7 separate regions of the Homo sapiens genome follow, and regions 1, 2, 3, 5, 6 and 7 are each linked to region 4. Evidence: promoter capture Hi-C in 16 types of primary human blood cells and fetal thymus (Javierre and others, 2016). All regions are on one chromosome and are shown on one strand. Each heading gives the region's core, a stretch centred on a gene start or on the middle of the fragment in contact. The rest is flanking DNA. Distances are from core to core; before and after follow the strand shown.

Region 1 (2,700 bases), core at 176-2,675, 1.9 Mb before region 4:
ATGAAGGCACACACTGTAGGCTTCTCCATCTGCTAAAATGACAGCTGAGGCCTACCTTCCAAGTGGCTAGCTGTCAGCAACACAAAACAGCACCCACCATCAGCTACTGGTCAGAGAAAATGACTTTGAGCGATCTGCTGTCAGGGAAGCCTGCCCAGGAGATGCAAGCTCAACTTCACACATAAAAGTGGAAATACATCAGAAAAATTGGGAGTGTTAGGATTCCGGAGGCTGGTACCACAACTGACTAATTAAAACAAATCCCAGAAGTGGGGATCACAGAGCAGAAGGGTCTGCAAAACACTTCTCTAGATCATCTTCTTTAACTCCTGGGTCCAGCCAAACCAAAAGATTAATCGTATTTCATTGTGTTTATCTCATTAGGAATATTTAGGACAGCAGTGTGGGCCCCAAGGTAGAGCTGCTTTTCCTTAATCTGTGTTGTAGTCATGCCAGGAGCTTATGGGAAGAGTCTCAAAAACTGATTGTTACATCCACTGCAGGGGTGCTGCAGGTCAGTGGCTCAGCACATCGACAACACAGCTTCACAAAGGCCCACAGAATAAACCGTGCAACTGTCCTTTCAGGATGTTATAGAAGGGATCCCGTGACTCTCATAACTGGGCATGGGCTGCTTTCACTGCCAGGATCCTGGTCTGTGTTTTGTGTCCTGACCCTCACTGTCCCACCCCAACCCTCACTCTGAGGCCTTCTAATGTGAACCTTTTGTGCTGTATCTAGCATAAGCATCCTCAAATTCTCTCTGGATAGAGATGGAATGTCAATTCAATATGAAATAGAAACATTTTAACTCTAACATTTCAGAATGGCAACAGACTTCGGAAACATCACCAGCTTGATTCCCCTCATTTTAAAGATGAGAAAACTGAGGCCAATAATGGCAAAGAAATCCGCCCAAGCCCACAGTTGCACAGACCGAATGGAAAGGCCAGGATGAAAAGGAGCGTGGAATCACGCACACCCTTTCTTCTCCATGCAGCGCAATCCCAGGCTCTGCAGCTTCAGGTTGGACTCTCCTTGCCACCTTGCCACCACTTCAGAGAATCCATTAAATGTCTTCATGACCAACCGCCACCTCTTGCCAAGCACAAAGCTCTCCATGTTAGCCAGATGTTTTGACGTGCTGATTTGCCAAGCATGGCAAAGCTTGACAAATCTTCCTCTGAACACCCCAACTTCTACTCTTTCGCTATGTACCACAAATAAAGTGCTAAGAGTTATGAAACAATAGGTTCAGTATAATGTTATTTTATGTATTAAAAACAAGTTTCTGCCAATACGGAAAAAACAATGTAGAACACAAAATATTTACAGCACAAAGTGGGCGATAGAAGTGGGTTACAGGATTACAGTTAATTTTTTTCCTTCTGGCTTATCTATATTTTCTAATTTTTCCTCCAGTAATAATTTTTCCTTCAGGACTTGCATAATTTAAAAAAAGACAAAAATAACAATAAAAGCGTTCTATTTAGGAGCTCTAGAGTGTCACATTACCACAGTCTGCAGTGTGCCGGTGAATGTCTGAGGTCATTTCTGGCTGAGGGGGAGGCACAGCAGTTATTTTCTTGGGAGCACACCTCCTCTCATTGGCTCTGGTGGGACTGGTTGCTGGTCCATCACCAGCAAGCATGTAACTTTTCCAAAGAAAGGATTGCAAGCTTATTTTCATCATGAATTAGCGAAAGAAGCAGTTAAATCCCAATTTTCCATGTCCTTCCTATTCAGAATAGGCACACAGCTTATTTACACACTGTGAGATCTAAAAGTTTACAACTTTACGACTTACAGACTGTGCGGTTTAAGAGAAAGGTTTCCACCCAGAGCCACCACACGTAGACAATCAAAAGAGATCTCACGGAGGATCAAAAAACCTGTTTTGTTGCAGGGACTATCTTGTTCATGAAGGTCATTTCCGTAATCCCTGAGCCCATCGCTGGCCTCTCCAGGATGTGATTATACATAAATACTCCAATGGGCACCCTAAGGTGTAGAGCTGAGTCCTGGTCCAGCTCCAAGGAAATGCCCTTGAATGTGAAGGCAGAGCTATGTCCTTGCCATCCGCCACTTAGACAATAAAAATGATGTTGCGGGTCGGGTGCGTTGGCTCACGCCTGTAACTCCTGCACTTTGGGAGGCCGAGGCGGGCGGATCACGAGGTCAGGAGTTTGAGACCAGCCTGGCCAACATGGTGAAACCCCGTCTCTACTAAAGATACAAAAAATTAGCCGGGCGTGGTGGTAGGCGCCTGTAATCCCAGCTACTTGGGAGGCTAAGGCAGGAGAATTGCTTGAACCCGGGAGGCGGAGGTTGCACTGAGCCGAGATCGCGCCACTGCACTCTAGCTTCACGCTACAGGGCAAGACTCAGAATTAAAAAAAAAAAAAAAATGGTGCTGTGCATCAGAACTCTCCCAACAGCAGGGAATTCTGGGGGAGCCACTGCTTCTTGGCTGCTTTTCCTGGCAAAGTCATCCCAAGCCCTTGTTATAACCTGTTTTGGCCATTCGTTGCCACTTCTATGTTTTGCATACCAAATATGAAGAGCCCCAGTTGGTATTCTAACAAATCTGTCCCTTTTACCATCTCCATTTTAGAAAAAAGAATGTCCCAGAATAAGTTTGGAAAAGCAGTCAATCTCTTAGCAATTACCGTATTAAACATATCTTAATGCCCTACAAAA
Region 2 (2,700 bases), core at 140-2,639, 1.6 Mb before region 4:
CGCTCCTTTGCCTTCCCTCCCTCACTCCTGCCCCACCCTGCATAGCGGTTGCTTCCTCGCCTTTCCCTCGCTCCCCTCGCGCTGTCCTTCCTTTGGCTTAAATGATCCCCCTGAGCACAGCTACTTGGCCGGGGCCCTGCGTGTTCCTGGTTCCCCGCTCGCAATTTCCCGAAGGGAGGAGGTCCCACGAGATGCTGGGGTCCTGCCTCGTTATCCGGCGAAGAGATGGCTTCTACACTTGCTCTTCTGCACCTGCCCCCCTCACGCTGCGTGACCAGTCCTCACCGCGGTTCTTGGAAAGAGTGGAGAACAGTAGTGACATTGTAGGCAATTTTTGTGAGAATTCAGCCTGGCAGTTTTTCCTGATAGGGATGGAGAAACATAGGAAACTGTAGTTGTTGACACCTAAGAAATATCAGGTTTTGCCCTTTGCCTCCTCTCCCATCTTTCAGAATATAAGAATGCTGTGTTTTGTTAGCTAAAAACTGAATCATGATTCGTAAGCATAGATTTCAATATAAGATACTTAAAATTCACTTTTCAATTCTGTGTCCTGAATTTCATAACTTTTAAGTTTCAGGGAGAATCAAGAGGCCCCATAGACCAAGCTTGAAGTTGTGGGACTGATTGACTTATATTTGATAGAAATACTGGAAATATTTGTTCATCAGTAGTGTGCCAAGAGGTGGTGGGGTACATATGAATGAGAGGCAGTTTTTGCCCCTGTAGACTGAGTTTATTGACTGATGATAAGAGGAACACATTTGAAGGAGAGCGATGGCAGGAAGGAGCATTTAGGCTCTAGAGAGGCAATTTAGAGAGAAGACTTTGCGGTGATAGTTGACTCCTTGGGCCAGTGAAAAGATCGGGAAGATGCTCCCATATATCCTGACCAACCATCCTGCGTTGCCCTGGACTGGGGTTTCCAAGGATGTAGAACTTTCAGTGCTAAACCTGGGCAAACTGGGACAATCTGATCACCCTACTTACTGTGAATATTGTGAATTAATCATCTGTTGATGATTGAGGAGCCATTTAGAATGGACATGCAAGAATTGGCAACACTTTCCTACAGAAATCTTGAAAACAAGGCATTTTTACCTGAGAAATGGAAGAGCAGTGGCCTGAGTTTGTCATTAGGTGCAGTGTGTTGAAAACCAGGGCCTACAGCCCCTGAGGGCACCGGTTAGGTAGTCCCAACTCTCAAGTTGGCTGGCTCACACTTCTGGCCCCAGGGCAAGCAGGCAGACTTAATTGTTTTTTTCAGGTTCTCTGTGGGGATTTCTTCCTTAATGAGTAAGTAAATCTGATTCTAAAGTCATCTTTTACTGCCTGATCTTTTCCAGTGTGCCTTTTACATTTATGTTTACTTATTTCCTTGACTTCCCTGTCCATGAACATTGTTCCTGTTTCCCTGTGTTTGTCCTTCTTGTTTGTTTATCCCTTTTCTGTATATCTGTAATGATCTCTTTCAAAGTGAGGTCTTGTCACCACCCTTCCTTTCCGCAATTATTATTGTAACATGGTAGCTGTTTTTCTTATTTTTCTTCTGCATTTCTCCTATATTTTTCATTTATTTTGTGGTCATTTCTAGTAGTTCATGTAATAGTATTCTTGATTACCTTAAAAGTCGAGGGTTCAACATAAGCCAGGAAAGCCTGTGTATAGTGGGCGAAGTAAAGGAATCTAAATTCAGAAGTAAAAACACGAAACTATTAGAATAAACTTTAGCACTTTAGATGTGCTAAATAGAATAAAGGAAGCCTTGAAAGACATATTACTAAACTGACAGAACTAAGACATAGATTTTAGCAGTGGTAGGGACCCCTAGTAATACGTTGGGTGGTCTCCCAACTCTTGGCACAAAAGGTGGGTGTTTGCTTTGTTTTGCTGATGAGATCATTGAGGTCTATGTGTGTGAGGTGGTTTATATGAAGTTACAGAGAATAGAGTCAAAAGAGAAATGAAAATGAATGAAGAAGGATAGAACTGGCAGCTGGACAATGACTGAGAAGTGTATTTTTAAAATTATGCTTTGGAAATAAGACTTTATGCCAAAGCTCTTGAATTACTGTATTTGAAATATAATGGAGAATTTGGTTGGTAAATTCTTTTATTCAGTGTGGAACATAGATGAGCTAAGTACTTTAACATACCGGTGCAAGCTTATAATTATTATTTGACATTGATTTCCCGAAATGCTTTAGAAACTTAATTGTACTCTGTGGAACTATTCCTTTCTGTTTGAAACACAGTTCTATCTAGGAAGAGAACTGTTTAATGTCCATATGTGACTGTTTAGGGATGCAGAATAAATACATTGAGGATTTAATATGTTTCAATACATTAAATTCTGTATAATTCTCCTTTTTCAATAAACTTCTGAAGGATTTTAGTTTAATTAAAAGTCTGCTAGGTCCATTTTCCTTTTTCCTCTTGGAGACTGAAGAGTAAGGGAGGAAGTATGGAGAAACAGATTGGGCATTCACGAATTCATGAGGAGTAAGGCAGCTGGAGTGTTTGTCTCAGCTTTGCCCCAGGTGTGTATTTTCAGATGGCTTTTTAAACTTGTTTCTTGATTTCTTAATTTTTTTCAAGGATAAATTGATGAATCTAGGAGCCCCAGTTTAAAGGATTGTGAAAAATGAACAAATTCAAGATGCTGTCACTAAAAAAGATGGGTTGATGCTATCTGATTTT
Region 3 (2,700 bases), core at 69-2,568, 1.7 Mb before region 4:
GCTGTGACAGCAAGTGGCATTTCCCAAGGCTCAATCACACCAGGACCTCGGGTGACTATGCAAGGTGATTTCTCTTCGGGATTTTCCTACCACAGGATCATTGCACCCCTTGGCCAGGTATCATCCATCAACCCCTGTCATCTGTCAAGAGTGGCTGCTGGAGGCATCACCCTCTGCCCCCCAGGACTTCAGTCCTAGCTGGTGCACTCCTGGCTTTGGGGCATCCTCCGCTCGAGTGGCAGGTGCTGCAGGCAGGAAGCTGTGGTGTGTGTGTGAACTGTCTACAGAGGCTGCAGGCGACCCGGAGGGCAGCCTGCCAGCACTGTCAGCTACAGCATCCGGCAAGGCAGATGGGTAAAGCAGTAAACCAGCAGGTGAGTGAACGGTTGCAATTGTGGCGGATGCCTTGGAGGGAGCTGACTGGGAGTTGAGCACAGAGGGAGGAGCAAAGACCTCCTTCAAATAGGGTCATGGCCGGTGCCTGCCTCCTTGGAGTAAGTAGGTCCCCAGCAAGCAGAGGCAGGAACCCGCAGTCACGCCACCCTGGCAGAGTTGTTCTGACCTTTGCCTAGAGCCTCGGTGCTACCTGTGAGCTGGGATAGTGATCACATTCACTTCTAATATGAGCTGGTTAAAAGCACATTATCATTGGCCAGGTTTCTCAATTGCCAAGAGATGACCTAGTGCTTGTTTAATACCAGAAATGAAGCTCAGCAGCAGCTCTTGGGCTGTCCTTCAGCGGCCCCTCACATGCCCAGGTGTGACCTTCTGGTTAGGGTGGCCTATGTCACCTCCCTCTCACCTTCTTGATGTCCACACAGTGCACCTGCTTTTGTCTGCCATGGGGGAGAGGAGGAGAGGCAGATCCTTCTGTGCCCTCTGCTCATGACCTTTTCTGCAGTGGGGTCCGAGGGTGGGCTTAGCTCAGGGACTGGATGGTGTGTCCTCTCCTAAGCTTAACTTGGCTCTGGGTTCCTTTGTCTTACAGATGGAACTTAACCAGAAGAAGCTAAGGAAGAGAAGAGAGGAGAGGAGAGAGACAGTGAAGAGGCTGGAAAAGGAGGAAGAGAAGTATGTTCTTTGGAATCAAAGTGTTACCTGGATTCCTACCCAGGATTTTCCTATTGTCTCAGGACCTAAAGGGAAAAGACCGGCCATGGGGCATGTGAGCCTCTGGGAAATCTGCCTCAAGCCCATAATGCCATCCGTCTACAGCAGTTGGAACAGTGTAAGAGTCAGACCTCGCCAGATCCCAAGCGCTGCAACATGAAGAACAAAACCAAGGTTAAGCCACAGACCAGGCCCCGTGGAGATTTCGCTGCTTCTAGCCTGACCGTCAGGATTTGGGTCCTGACCGCTCCCCTGGCTGTTGGGCTGGTCCCAGCTCTGGGCCTCCGTTTTCTCACCCACAGAATGGGGACGATACAGGACCTCCCTCATCAGAGCTGTCACAAGTGGTAAGTGAATGGGTTCGTGAGAAGCTCTGCAGTGCCTGGCGCAGACCAAGGGCCCCACCGATGGTGGCTGTGAGTTTTCCCACTAATGTATTTTTTGATATGTAACATTTTAAAATAAAATTTTCTCTTTTCTTTTTTCCTTCTCCTTTTAGAACCTCAATTTCCTGATTCCCTAAGCTCATGTCTGGTGCTGACTATTATCTTAGTGCTGAACTCAAGCTTTCCTCATAGCTCCTCAGAGCATTTGAGAATAACTGGGTGTTTCTGCACCCACAACATATTTGTAAAACCAGTCAGGATATATGGTTCATGAAGCATTAATAGAAGATGTGGTTCTCAAACTTGAGTGGGGCTCAGGGTCCTCTGGGGGGCTTGTGAACACACAGATCATGGGTCTCCCCAAGGTCTCTGATGTTGGAGGTCTGGATGGGGTCCAAGAGTTTGTTTTTCTGGCCAATGCCCAGGTGGCCAGAACCACTTTTGGGAACCACACTTTGAGAACCACTGGCACATAGTAAGGAGGCCTCTTCCAGAGGCCACCAGGGAAGTCACTGTCCTGGAAGGTAAAGAACATTTGTCCAGGGGATGTGTTAATGAAAAGACTCAGTTCTGGGCTCCTGGAGCCAGGTAGGAGATGAGAACAGACACAAAAGAACTTAAGAATAAGAAAATAAGACCAAAGGAGCATCAAGTGCTTCAAGAGTGCAGCAGTGATTTTGTTCCAGCTGGGGCAGGAAAACCTGGGGAGGCTCTGCGGTGAGGAACCATTTGGGCTGGGCGTTGATGGGTGGCTGAGCACTGCTTGGCGCCTGGCCCTGCAAGTGCGATGTGGTGGGTCCTGTGTCCCACCTTGAATCTGTGTCCTGTCCTTGAATCTGGTGGCTTGTGGCTGCTTAAACCAGTCAGCAGGGCCAGTGCACACTAATGCCTTGGGTACAATGCCCAGGGCCTATGCTTCTAATGCCATTGAATATATTTTAAAATCAGAAGGAAAAATGAGTACAATAATAAAGAATATACAATAATGAATCTAGACTGGATTATATTCACCTTTATGCCAACATAGGCACAAAATACAACTTTAAATATTTTTATGGAAGAAGGGGCCCATGAAAGCAGAAGTGCCACTCCCCCAAAACTCATGCTATGGCCTCGCTGACTGAACGTGATGGAAGTAATGCTCTGACTTCTGTGGAAGGGCCAGCAAAGGCTGTGCAGCATCTGCCTGGTTCTTGTGGGATGC
Region 4 (2,700 bases), core at 104-2,603:
CTTATAATACCTAATACAATGTAGATGGGATGTAAATAGTTGTTATACTGTATAGTTTAGGAAATAATGACAAGAAAAAAAAAGCCTCTACATGTTCAGTACAAACGCATTTTTCTTTTTCTGAAGAATATTTTTGATTTGAGGTTGGTTGAATCCACCCCACGCGGAACCCACGACTAAGAAGCGCTGTGTTTGCTAAGGGCTTCACACAAATTACCTCATTTAAATGTTACCACAAATGGATGAAAAAGGTATTACTATAACAATTTTACAAATGAGAAAAGGGAAACCTAGGGCTGGATCAAAGTAACGACGGTTAAGTACACTCCTGATCTATCGTTTACAAGACTAGACTGAGGGCTGAAATTTTGTCAATACAACGCTGTCCTTGTACTCGCGTAAGCAAGTCTCCATGAGCACAACTCCAGGACTGCTAGAGTGGGAATTTTCTCCCAGGGACCCCATTTCTCTTTGGCTGGAATTCCCGATCTCCACCTCACTCCTCCTCCCTCCATGGCACCAGTCCCCCCATCATCTCAGAAATGCCCCTCTTCTCCGCCCCTGGCTGTCTTTCCAAACACAATCTAACAACTGGCCACGCCCCCACACACCATAGAAGGACCATCTCCACTTACGGTTTTCAGCTACCTATGAGGTCGTCAGTCCCGCTGTCTGTGTCAAATCAGAAAAAGAACCTGACCGTGAGGACTAGAGTAAGAGGCTGTGAAGACTGCCGCCTCCTCGCACGACCCACACCGTCGAGTGTCCGGAGATGGACGGGAAAAGCTACCACAGTGGCATGGCCTTATTTCCTGTGAGTCGCCTTTAATTCAAACCTAGACAGACGCACGCCCTGCCCGGCCCTCCTCAGACCCGAGAGCTGCGCTGTGAGGGGACGCGCCTCCCCTCGTTGATGAGAATTCGCTGCCACGCTTTTTGCACAGGCGAGAGCCTCACCGCGGCGGCAACTCTACCACGTGGACAAAGGCACAGCCGTGTCTCATTCTCGACAATGGAGGAGGGCGTGGGGTATGCACTAGGGGCTGTCTCGGGGGTCAGACCGCCGGGGGACGGCAACGTACCTGCGCGGCGACGTCCAGGGTCAGCGCGGGCCGCGGCCCCCACGGTCGGGACGCCCCCCGCGTGGGACGCAGTTCCACTGAGGGGCCGGCCGCGGAGGTCACAAGGTGGGCCCACCGAAGCCTCTGGTAGGGGCACGGGAAGAGCCGCCTTTCTCTCCTCCTCCTCCTTCTTGGAGGCTTACTCTGGGTCACCGGGGCCCCAGAGCCGGGGGACTTTCCGGCGCAGTTCCGCGGCTTCCCGCGCGCGGCCAGCCGGTCTCCACGCAGACGCGAGCGCCCCGGCGCCGCCCTCTCCCGCATTCCCGTGACGGGCAGCGAAGTCAGCCAGTGGGACTGCGGGCCGGAAGGCTAACTCCGCCCATGTGTGGCTTATAAGAGGCGGTAGCTTCCGGGAGTGTCACTTTCCCAGAAATCCCGGCAAATCCGCCCTAGAGTTTTCGTTGGTCCAACCGGGCCACAGACTCCGGCCCGTCTGGTTAGGTGGGATGCCTGATTGGGCCAAACCTCTTAGGTCCCGCACCTAGAGCGGGGAGTAGCGTCTGCTTTTTTTTCCGCTGAGCGGAGGCCGCTAGGCTGGAGAGGGAGGGGAAGGTGTGTGGGGTCGGGTGAGATGCTTTCCCCTCGTCCCGCATGCGCCTGTATTGGAGTGATTTCAGTTAAAAGTCTCGTGAAACGTCACCAGTGATGTAGTCACGGCCAGCAGCAGCTGCCTGACCCCGCCGAGGCCTTCCGTCTGGCAACATGTGGGGCGCCGCAATGCTTGAGGCCACGGCGAGGGCAACGCCGGCCGCGCCCCGTGGAAACCGCGTGGCGGAGTGCTTGAGCCGATCGCGCTCTTTAGGAGTTAGGCCACTTAGAGGCGACATCTTGGTGGACACGGAGGAAGCCAGTTTTAGTCAGATGGGAAAAGTAGCTAAAAGTGGGAGGAGACTGGGGCGAGGGTGGGACGTGGGGGAGGCGGGGGCGTGACGGCGGCTCTCCACTGCCCTGAGGCTTGAGGGGCCCCGGGAAACCCGGGCCCGGCTGGGGTTGGGACTCTGTTCTTCCGCGTTCATAGCTACGATTCAGCTGTTCTGGAATGAGAACTGGATTTTTACTGAACTTTACGAACAGGCTCAACAGGATGTAACCATTCAGTGTGGAGGCATGAGAAACTATAGCTTGTAAATTAAAAGAAAAACCTCATTTCTTTAGACAACATTTTCAGCTCCATCTGCTGGTCTGAGGCTGAATAATTAATTGAAAAGCCAGGAGAGAAATGGGGCTAGATGAAGTGAGGTAGTTTAACCTGTGCTTTCTTGGCGTCCCGTCGGCTCCCTTTGCTTGCATTCCTAAGAGAATCTTGGTCTCAGATTTCAGGACAAGTGGAAAACAGTTGGGCTATTTAGTATAGGCCACCCCTTCCCCCCCGCACCCTCTCCCCCCACACACTTCAGTTAAGTAGGTGGAAAGTTTGGATTATTAAAAAGACACGTTGGAGGCTGAGCAGAGAGTGTGAAAGAGCATTTTCGGGGCTTTGTGAACTAACATGGCCTTTTGAACCCCAAGGCAGTGATACTTGGATTGATCTAAATCAGCGTGGATGGAATGGAAGTGGGAATGCGTTGATTTACTGCAC
Region 5 (2,700 bases), core at 108-2,607, 1.7 Mb before region 4:
AGAAGCTTGGGTAGCCAGCAGGGGGGCAGTGACAGGACGACATGGCAGATGGTGGTAGGCTGTGCAGAGCATGTGGGGTGGAACTGCCTTCCCTCTGGCCTTTTGGAAGCACAGGCCTCGGGCTGAGTGCCTGGAACCCCCAGACTGGCAGCAACCCCAACTGTAGGAGGCTCTGCATCCTTCTCAGATCTACTCCCGCCCTCAGCACCTGCCTTGGGGGCATGGAGCAGGCAGGCTGTGCAGGTGAGGGCTTCCTGCAAGGCATTCACACAGCTGAGGTGCATGTGCCCTGAGCCGGCGACACGGAGACTGCAGCTTCCATAAGGCAAACCAGCATTTTGCACCTGCCCTCCTGAGAAGGAGGTGCCTGAGGTGCCCACCTTTCTTAAAGGTCCATCAGTGTTCAATAATTCTCTTTTTCCCATGTCTTGTATTTTCTGCAGTCATTATGGCCACTGTTTACAGGTCACCTTCAAAGGTGCCTGCAACTTCATATTTGGTCTCCACGACCACCTTGGTAGTGGGTCCTATTATTAGGCCATTTCACAGATGAGACAGTTCAGGCCCCAGTGGTGTGGGGGGCTGTGTTGGGAACCCTGCTCTCTGATCAGTCATTGTTTGGCCTCCCGTGAGACTCCTGAGTGATAAACTTGCAGGTTCAGCGCTTTCCACAGAGTCTAGCAAAACCTCAGGGAAGAGACTTTCACTTTCCATAAGGAATTTAGAACACACATAGCTTTAGTGATCTTGTTACTGGCTGAGCTGGCATCACTACTAGCAACTCAGCTCATGTCTCCTGGGGGCCCTCGCTGTGCCTGGGCCCGCCTTGGCCCAGGGGACCATTCATGTTCAAGTGCGGCTGCCACTTTATGTTTTCACGGCAGCTTCTCTTTGCTAAATGTCATGGTCATGACATCAAATAATGACGTGAGAAATTTCATACTTGGTTTATGAGCCCTGCTAGCTGACTTCCTGGTCTTCTGTTCTCTCAGCAGAGTGAGCAAATCTTACCACCATTGAATGACAGTCAGTGGCTACAGTAATGTCAGGGCCAGAGGAGGCTGCCAGGAGGGAAGGAGTCTGTTCCCCAGGCCTGGGTCCATGAGATGCGAGCTGGCCATCCATGCTTTGCGTGGCCTTCCACGCTCCTCCTGCGTGAGAAGGGGTCAGCCTCGCCAGGCTTCCCTTCCCTAAGGCTGATCCTTTCTTCTCTTACTACGAATATGTTCCTGACACAGCATGCTGAAGAAAATATCAAATTCTAGAGACAGCATAGGAATGTCCTTTCAAGTTTTGGATCTAGACCATGGAGTTGGCCTTCCCCAGCCCCCATCAGCACCGGTGCTTGGAGAGAAGTGACTGAGCCTGAGGAAATGCTTTGTGTCTGTCAGAGGCCTTCACATATCAAGACAATTACCTGGGTTTACTTCCCTTATTGGCAGAAGAAAATGAAACGTTTCTGTAGGCTGGTTTCTCAGAGGGGGTCCTTCCCATTTGCTTCTCAGAGCAGCAGCACATCTTCATGCCAGCGTGATGCAAGGTGACAGCAGCCTAGCCCCTCAGGGGAAGGAGGACACAGGGTGTCTGCAGGGTGGGTGTCGCTCTTGGTGGAGGTCCTTCCCACTTCATGCTCACCTGCTGCGCCCATTTGCTCAACAAATATTTATTGAGTACCTTATATGAGCTAGGTGGATGCCAGGAGGAAGGCAATAAGCAAAACCCAGATCTCTACCCAAGCAGACCTTGTACTTGATGGACAACAAAGAAGTCTGTTAGCTAATGTTTATTTCATGAATACTGACTGCCAGAATAATTGTAAGCAATAAACAATCATGCATTCTCAATTTCTTTCTTTCCCTCTTTCTTTCTTTCCTTCCTTCCTTCCTTCCTTCCTTTCTTTCTTCTTTCTTTCTTTTTCTTTCTTTCTTCTTCTTCTTTTTTTTTTTTTGACAGAGTCTAGCTCTGTCACCCAGGCTGCAGTGCAGTGATGGGATCTCAGTTCACTGCAATCTCCACCTCCTGGGTTCAAGCGATTCTCCTGCCTTAGCCTCCCAAGTAGCTGGGATTCAGACATGCAGCACCACGCCTGGCTAATTTCTGTATTTTTAGTAGACACAGGGTTTTGCTATGGTTGGCCAGGCTGGTCTTAAACTCCTGACCTCAAGTGATCTGCCTGCCTCAGCCTCCCAAAATGCTGGGATTACAGCTGTGAGCCACTATGCCCAGCCTTAATTTGTTTATTTCTTAAACACGAGAGCACACACAGGACTTACTTATCCTGGGCCTTCATCAGGAAATGTCTAGGAGGAAAAGACACTTTCAATATTAACCGTGACAAAACTAGCTCTGATTGAAAGACAGATGAAAAAATAAATACCAGTGTATTTCTTCCTCTCTTTTCTCTGAACTCTGTTTCCAGCTGTTTCCTGTTTTGGACTAATTTTAAATTCTGAGGCGGGGGGTGGGGGGCAGGGGTGCAGTTGTACCGTCTGAGTTCAGGCAGTTATCGTGTTGGTCACAATTACTTGCAGTCAGATTGTATCTTTAGCATTGGATAAAAGTTATTCCCAATTGATGTTAAGAGTTGGTAATAAGTCTTCTTCCTTCCCCAAGGCCAGTCAGCGTTTTCCTAGTGTTAAGCACCAGGAACACAAGGCCACATTTGTATTTTTGTGCACATCATTTGCATACGTCTGCACC
Region 6 (2,700 bases), core at 62-2,561, 1.8 Mb after region 4:
CATGTGCTTGAGGCAATTTGTTCAATCAACTAATATTTACTGAGCATAATTTTAAAAAATCAGAATTAAGTTGTCCCAGTTACAAGCTTTGGAATCTGACAACCTGGATCCATTGAATCACTGCACTTACCGGAACCTGAACAACTTATCTGGCTGAGTCTCAGTTTCCTTATCTGTAAAAGGGGGGATAATATTACCTGACTTGCAGAATTGCAATGAAACGATAAATGTGATTGTGCAGGGAAGGCATGGAGCTGAGCCCCTGGAACAGAAAAGGCATGTGATAAAGAACATCTTCCACACCACGGAGAATACTCCAGGGGAGAAAGGCCAGCCCCAGCAATCATACAGAGCATCTCAGTCAGGCCACCCTGAGCTGAATTCTTAGAGTAACAGGGGATTTACTGCCTGCAGGCGTCTCTGGACAGCTATGTCTGCTCAGAAGTTTTTCCTAATACAAAGTTAAAATCTATTCTGCTCTAATTTTCAGTGATCTATCATCATTATTTCAACCCTCACATCTAAATAAAGCATGGAGATAATAAATTATCTCCCACATGGAAGCCTTTTCCAGCACTTTCCAATAGAACTTCCGGTGACGATGGAAATATTCCACATCTGTGCCTCCAGTATTAGGCACCTGCGGCAATTGATCATTGGGAATGTGACTACTACAACTAAGAAACTGAATTTTTATTTTATTGTATTTTAATTAGCTTTAAATAGTCCCATATGGCTAGTGGCTTTCAGATTGGTCATAAGTGTTGGACATAAAAAAAGCAACAAGAGTCCCCTCTCTTTTATTCACTAAATCAAACATCGTCCGTTCCTTTACATATCATCTATATGTGATCATCTGAGTCCTTCACATCCCAGTTCTGTCCTCAGGGATTCACTCTAATTTTCCACATCCCCATGAAAGGGTAACATCAGAACTGAACCCCTCTGCAGGTATCCCACGAAGGAATACCAAATTCTGATTAATAGAAACAGAGCAGCATCCCCGGGGCTAGCCTCGTATCCTTCATTTCTGTATTCCTAGCATCCACCCCAGGAGATAGCTCATTCATAATTGATGAGTGGATGAATACATTTTCTCAGCAGGGTGGAATACAGTGGAACTCTCACTTCCTTTGTTCCAGATATGAATTTCCATGACCGGAATCTAAGAACACATTCTCTCTTTTTTTAAGTTAATTTGGTGGGGGGAGACATCTTGACCTATATTGACCTTACTGTCAACTAAAGCCCCTCTTTTCCATGTCATCTCTCCTCCAACCTTGTGCTGTTGGGTATGGCTTTCCAAATGCAAGCCTTTACATTTAACTCTGTGATATGGTTTGGATATTTGTCCCTGCCAAAATCTCATGTTGAATTATAATCCCAGTACTGGAGGCAGGGCCTGGGAGGAGGTGATTGGACGATGGATTAGCACCATCCCCTTGTTGCTGTTCTCACGATAGTGAGTGAGTTCTCCCGAGATCTTGTTGTTCAGCAGTGTGTGGCACCTCCCTCCTACTCTCTCTCTTGCCCCTGCTCTCACCATGTGAAGTGCCTTATCCCCCTTTGCCTTCTGCCATGATTGTAAGCCTCCTGAGGCCTCCCTAGAAGCCAAGCAGATGCCATCACCATGCTTCCTGTAAAGCCTGCAGAACTGTGGGCCAATTAAACCTTTTATGTATACGTTACCCAGTCTATAATTGCTCATTATAAAATATATCAATGCAAGAACAGCCTAACACACTCTGAATATCTTTTTCTCTGATGTCCCACTTATGATGACCATGAGGACTCTGATTCACATGGCCACAAGTATCTATGGGCCTCCATGCCAACTGGAGATGGCTGCCCCTCTGGCTGGACAGCTCATGGCTTGACCATGGATAGCCATCTCTCTGGGAAGATTTGGAAAAAGCACTCACTCTGCTGGGGAACAGCCATGCAGGTTTGCTGAGCAAATCCCATGTCTGTGAGAATAAACAGTTATCCCTATTCTGAATGGACGCCCAGGTCCTAGACAGCTGGGCTTGGGAATAGGAGCAGGGGCTGAGTTCTGGCTCCCTCCCCACTGCCCTCCTGTTCCAATCCATCAGATAGTCCATCCAGTATAGATGGTCTCTGATATATGATCATTGGACTTAAGACTTTTCAACTTTACAATGGGTTTGCTGGGGGGTAGCCCCATGATAAGGGGGGAAGCATGTATACATTGCTTCCTAATTTAACTCTCTTATCTTCTATAATAGCACTATGCAAACTATCTGAGGGTAAGAACCAGGGTTTTCTAAATTTTTTATCATCCTCAGATTCACACTTTTGTAAAATACAACAAAAATAAATTATCAGAAAAATAAAATTTTAAAAATATAAGCCCAAACTTTATTTTTAGGTTAATCAGAGGGAACATACATTTCAGTAAATATAATCAAAACTAACATAATGAGGAAAAAAACAATTGTAAAAACTGGACATGCTCCTTTGAGAAGATGTGTATAGGCAATTATCGTATACAATTGCAATTACACTCTAAGCTTTTTGCTGCTCAGCAGTTACAATTGTGGGACAGTTAATCTGGGCAATACCTCCTTTAACAGTCCTCCCCTGGGAGGTGGATGTGTCCCCTCCCGTTGAATCTGGACAGGTTCTGTGACCACATTGACCAATGAAATGTGGGAGAAGTCATGCTTTACCACTTTCTGG
Region 7 (2,700 bases), core at 197-2,696, 1.9 Mb before region 4:
GGTGCCAACGTGCAGCCCCTCCCCAGCCCTATTCTGGGCCTGGGTCCCACCACACTCGGGGGCTTCCCACAGCTCTCAGGATCATGTTGCAGCCTCTGCCTGGGCCTGTCCCTGCCGGCCCCTGTCCCTGCTGGCCCCTGTGGCTTCATCGCACTCCTCTTTCGTCCTTGCCCACAGTGCTCTGAGAACAGTGCCTTCTTCTGCCCCTAGAACTCAGCCTCTCCCTGCCTCAGGCCCCTGGCACAGACTGATACGCATTCCCAGAATACTTGTCCCACCACACTGGCACCGTGTCTTCATTCTGAAACCTCCACTGAAATGTCACTGCCACCCCCTTCCCGGATGCCCCCAACCTGCACATGCCCCATCACGCACTCTCTGAGCTCCCTTTACCCACCACCAGCAGTGATGAAACCAGTATTCATAGACCTGATTCCTGTAGGTCTGTGTCTCCCCACTAGGCCATGAGCCCCCAGGGCAGGGACTCAGCTTGTCTTGTGCTGCTGCTGCCCAGCATGGCATCCAAGCCCTTCTCTAGAATGGAAGAGGCTGCTCCTCTACCCCCGCACCTTCTATAACGTCACCAGACACACAACAGAGTCCTGTAGAAAATCCATAAACAGGGAGAGGACACAGCAAGACGGCAAAAGAGGAAGCTCAAAGGCCCTTGTTCCCCCACAGAGAAACACTAAAAACAACTAGAGACTGGTTAAAATATTGCATAGGAGCTCTGCAAAACAGGCAACGATCTACAGCAACCAAGAGAATGCCCAGCCCAGAAGCAGCCACATTCAGGATGTCAGGAACTCTGAGGTGTTTCACTCACCCCTGCCCCAGGCCTCCCCAGCATGGCACCACCTGATGAATGCGGCAGCCCGGTTCCCAATTCCTTCCCTTGAACTGGAGGGAGCAGAGCGGACCTTTCTGCAACATCCTAATCTGTCTTGGGCTGCCTGAGGAACAGATCTCTGTTTCACCTGACTCTGAGCTCAGAGCCCAGATAGGAAGTCAGGGAAATGGTTATGGGCACTGCTAGGCAAAGCTGTAGGATGACTATAGCCCCACGCATACCTGGGGCAAGAATGACAGGTGAGAAATACAGTAGAACATCTGAGGCCCAAGGAGGGACTGGGGGAGACTTTGAGAAAGTAAGATATATATATATATATATAAAGCTTTGTAAAAGTTTAATGGAGCCAACAAGGCAAATAAATTGTGTTCCGGCAGACATTAAGACCTGCTTTCTCTTACCAAAAAATAAGGGCACACATTTTTATCAAAATTCGATAATTCAGAGTTAAGGGTACTGAGATTAAGCTTCAAAGCACCAACTTAAACCAAACAGCAATGAAAAATTGGTTATTCAACTTGGAAAGAGGAACTAAAACCAAGGCATAAAGGGGAGATTAAATATGTGTTCCTTGATCTCAAAGTCCTTTTAGGAGCAGGAGTTCTGGCCACATGTGAGCAACACATCACACCACCAAACCCCAATTCCAGAATCTAAATTTACAATGATAGAAAAACAAAGGTTACTCCAAATGCATTTCTTGGTATATTCCAAAGGGAAGCTTGAAAGTATTCATAATGAAAGTAAGAGATTTTGAAACAGCCACGAATATGGGGAAATTGAAAAAAACACATACACAGGCCCAGGGAAGATGCATCCTCAGAAGAAACCAGAGGAAACTTTGGCCTTCATCCAGAGCTGATCCCCACACTTAGGCAGATCCTGCTATTTGGTGGGGGCCATTCCCAATACAGAGTTAGTCTTCAAAGACTGGGACAAGGAGCTGTTTTTCAAATGCCCAATGTTCAGCAAAAAAATCACACGGCATACAAAGAAACAGGAAAACACAGCTCATTCAGAGGAAGAAAATGAAGTGGCAGAACCCATCCCTGAAGAAATGCAGGCACTGGATGTACTTGACCAAGACTAAAAATGACTGTCTTAAATATGCTAAAAGAGCTGAAGGAAAACAGATAAAGAATGAAAAGAAATCAAGAAAATAACATATGACAACAAAATGAGAAATTATAAAAAGGAATCAAACAGAAATTGTGGAGCTGAGAAATACAAAACTGAACTGAAAACTCTGACCAGAGGGATTTGAGTCGGTAGAAGAATCAGCAAACTTCAACATAGCACATTTGAAAATATCAAGTCAGAGGAACAAAAAGAATGAGGAAAGTGAGCAGAGCCTCAGGGACTTAGGGGCCTCCCTCACGTGCACCATGCACATTATGGAAATCTAAGAAAGAGAAGAGAGAATGGGGCAGAGAAATTATGTGAAGAAAGAATAGCTAAAAACCTCCCAAATTTGACTAAAGACATGAATATAAACATCCAAGAAGCTCAGTAAACCCCACGTAAGATAAACCCAAAGAGACCAACATGAAGACACAATATAATCAAACTGTGTAAAGACAAAGGCAGAATATTGAAAGCAGCAAAAGAATGGCTCATGATGTACAAAGAATCCTCAATAACACTGTTAGCCAATGTCTTAGCAGAAACCTCAGAGGCCAGAGGCAGTGGGAAGATACCCCCAAACTGCTAAAACAAACAAACAAAAAAATCTGTCAACAGAGAATTCTACATTCAGCAAAACTGTCCTTCACAAATGAGGGAGAAATTAAGACACTTCCAGATTAATAAAAGATGTGCGTGTTCATTGCCACTAGATCTGCCCTACCAGA

The links. The method cuts DNA at HindIII sites, captures the fragments that hold promoters and counts their contacts. A CHiCAGO score of 5 or more calls a contact.
Region 1: a fragment that was not itself captured here is called in contact with the fragment with the promoter of NXT1 in region 4 in 2 of 17 cell types (total CD8 T cells and total B cells); the score reaches 7.7 in total CD8 T cells.
Region 2: a contact is called between a fragment that was not itself captured here and the fragment with the promoter of NXT1 in region 4, in 8 of 17 cell types (total B cells, activated CD4 T cells, naive CD4 T cells and 5 more). The highest score is 17.6, in total B cells.
Region 3: a contact is called between a fragment that was not itself captured here and the fragment with the promoter of NXT1 in region 4, in 3 of 17 cell types (non-activated CD4 T cells, total CD4 T cells and naive CD8 T cells). The highest score is 7.9, in non-activated CD4 T cells.
Region 5: a fragment that was not itself captured here is called in contact with the fragment with the promoter of NXT1 in region 4 in 1 of 17 cell types (naive CD8 T cells); the score reaches 5.0 in naive CD8 T cells.
Region 6: a fragment that was not itself captured here is called in contact with the fragment with the promoter of NXT1 in region 4 in 1 of 17 cell types (activated CD4 T cells); the score reaches 6.1 in activated CD4 T cells.
Region 7: a fragment that was not itself captured here is called in contact with the fragment with the promoter of NXT1 in region 4 in 4 of 17 cell types (total B cells, naive B cells, total CD8 T cells and 1 more); the score reaches 9.8 in total B cells.

Annotation. Positions count from the first base shown.
Region 1 is chr20:25,249,559-25,252,258 of GRCh38, reverse strand. All of the region lies in intron 1 of PYGB (glycogen phosphorylase B), which reads right to left. Among named protein-coding and RNA genes, the nearest start is that of PYGB, 2.8 kb to the right of the region's middle. The HindIII fragment of the contact is 512 bases long and covers 1,170-1,681 here.
Region 2 is chr20:24,989,619-24,992,318 of GRCh38, reverse strand. The region is part of intron 1 of APMAP (adipocyte plasma membrane associated protein); the gene reads left to right. Among named protein-coding and RNA genes, the nearest start is that of APMAP, 1.8 kb to the left of the region's middle. RefSeq lists an enhancer at 1-15. The HindIII fragment of the contact is 1,557 bases long and covers 611-2,167 here.
Region 3 is chr20:25,088,517-25,091,216 of GRCh38, reverse strand. No RefSeq gene overlaps it. Among named protein-coding and RNA genes, the nearest start is that of VSX1, 7.7 kb to the right of the region's middle. The HindIII fragment of the contact is 721 bases long and covers 958-1,678 here.
Region 4 is chr20:23,349,444-23,352,143 of GRCh38, reverse strand. NXT1 (nuclear transport factor 2 like export factor 1) reads right to left here and starts at 1,353. Exons shown (of 2, transcript NM_013248.3): 1 at 1,083-1,353. NXT1-AS1 (NXT1 antisense RNA 1) reads left to right here and starts at 677. Exons shown (of 3, transcript XR_937384.2): 1 at 677-814. RefSeq lists enhancers at 502-551, 608-1,479, 1,418-1,712, 1,632-1,771, 1,480-2,352 and silencers at 1,042-1,311, 1,932-2,061. The HindIII fragment of the contact is 12,471 bases long and covers 1-2,700 here.
Region 5 is chr20:25,036,201-25,038,900 of GRCh38, reverse strand. The region is part of intron 2 of ACSS1 (acyl-CoA synthetase short chain family member 1); the gene reads left to right. Among named protein-coding and RNA genes, the nearest start is that of ACSS1, 21 kb to the left of the region's middle. RefSeq lists a silencer at 2,214-2,508. The HindIII fragment of the contact is 2,700 bases long and covers 8-2,700 here.
Region 6 is chr20:21,543,389-21,546,088 of GRCh38, reverse strand. No RefSeq gene overlaps it. Among named protein-coding and RNA genes, the nearest start is that of BETALINC1, 15 kb to the right of the region's middle. The HindIII fragment of the contact is 2,445 bases long and covers 89-2,533 here.
Region 7 is chr20:25,202,943-25,205,642 of GRCh38, reverse strand. All of the region lies in intron 1 of ENTPD6 (ectonucleoside triphosphate diphosphohydrolase 6), which reads right to left. Among named protein-coding and RNA genes, the nearest start is that of ENTPD6, 8.6 kb to the right of the region's middle. The HindIII fragment of the contact is 254 bases long and covers 1,320-1,573 here.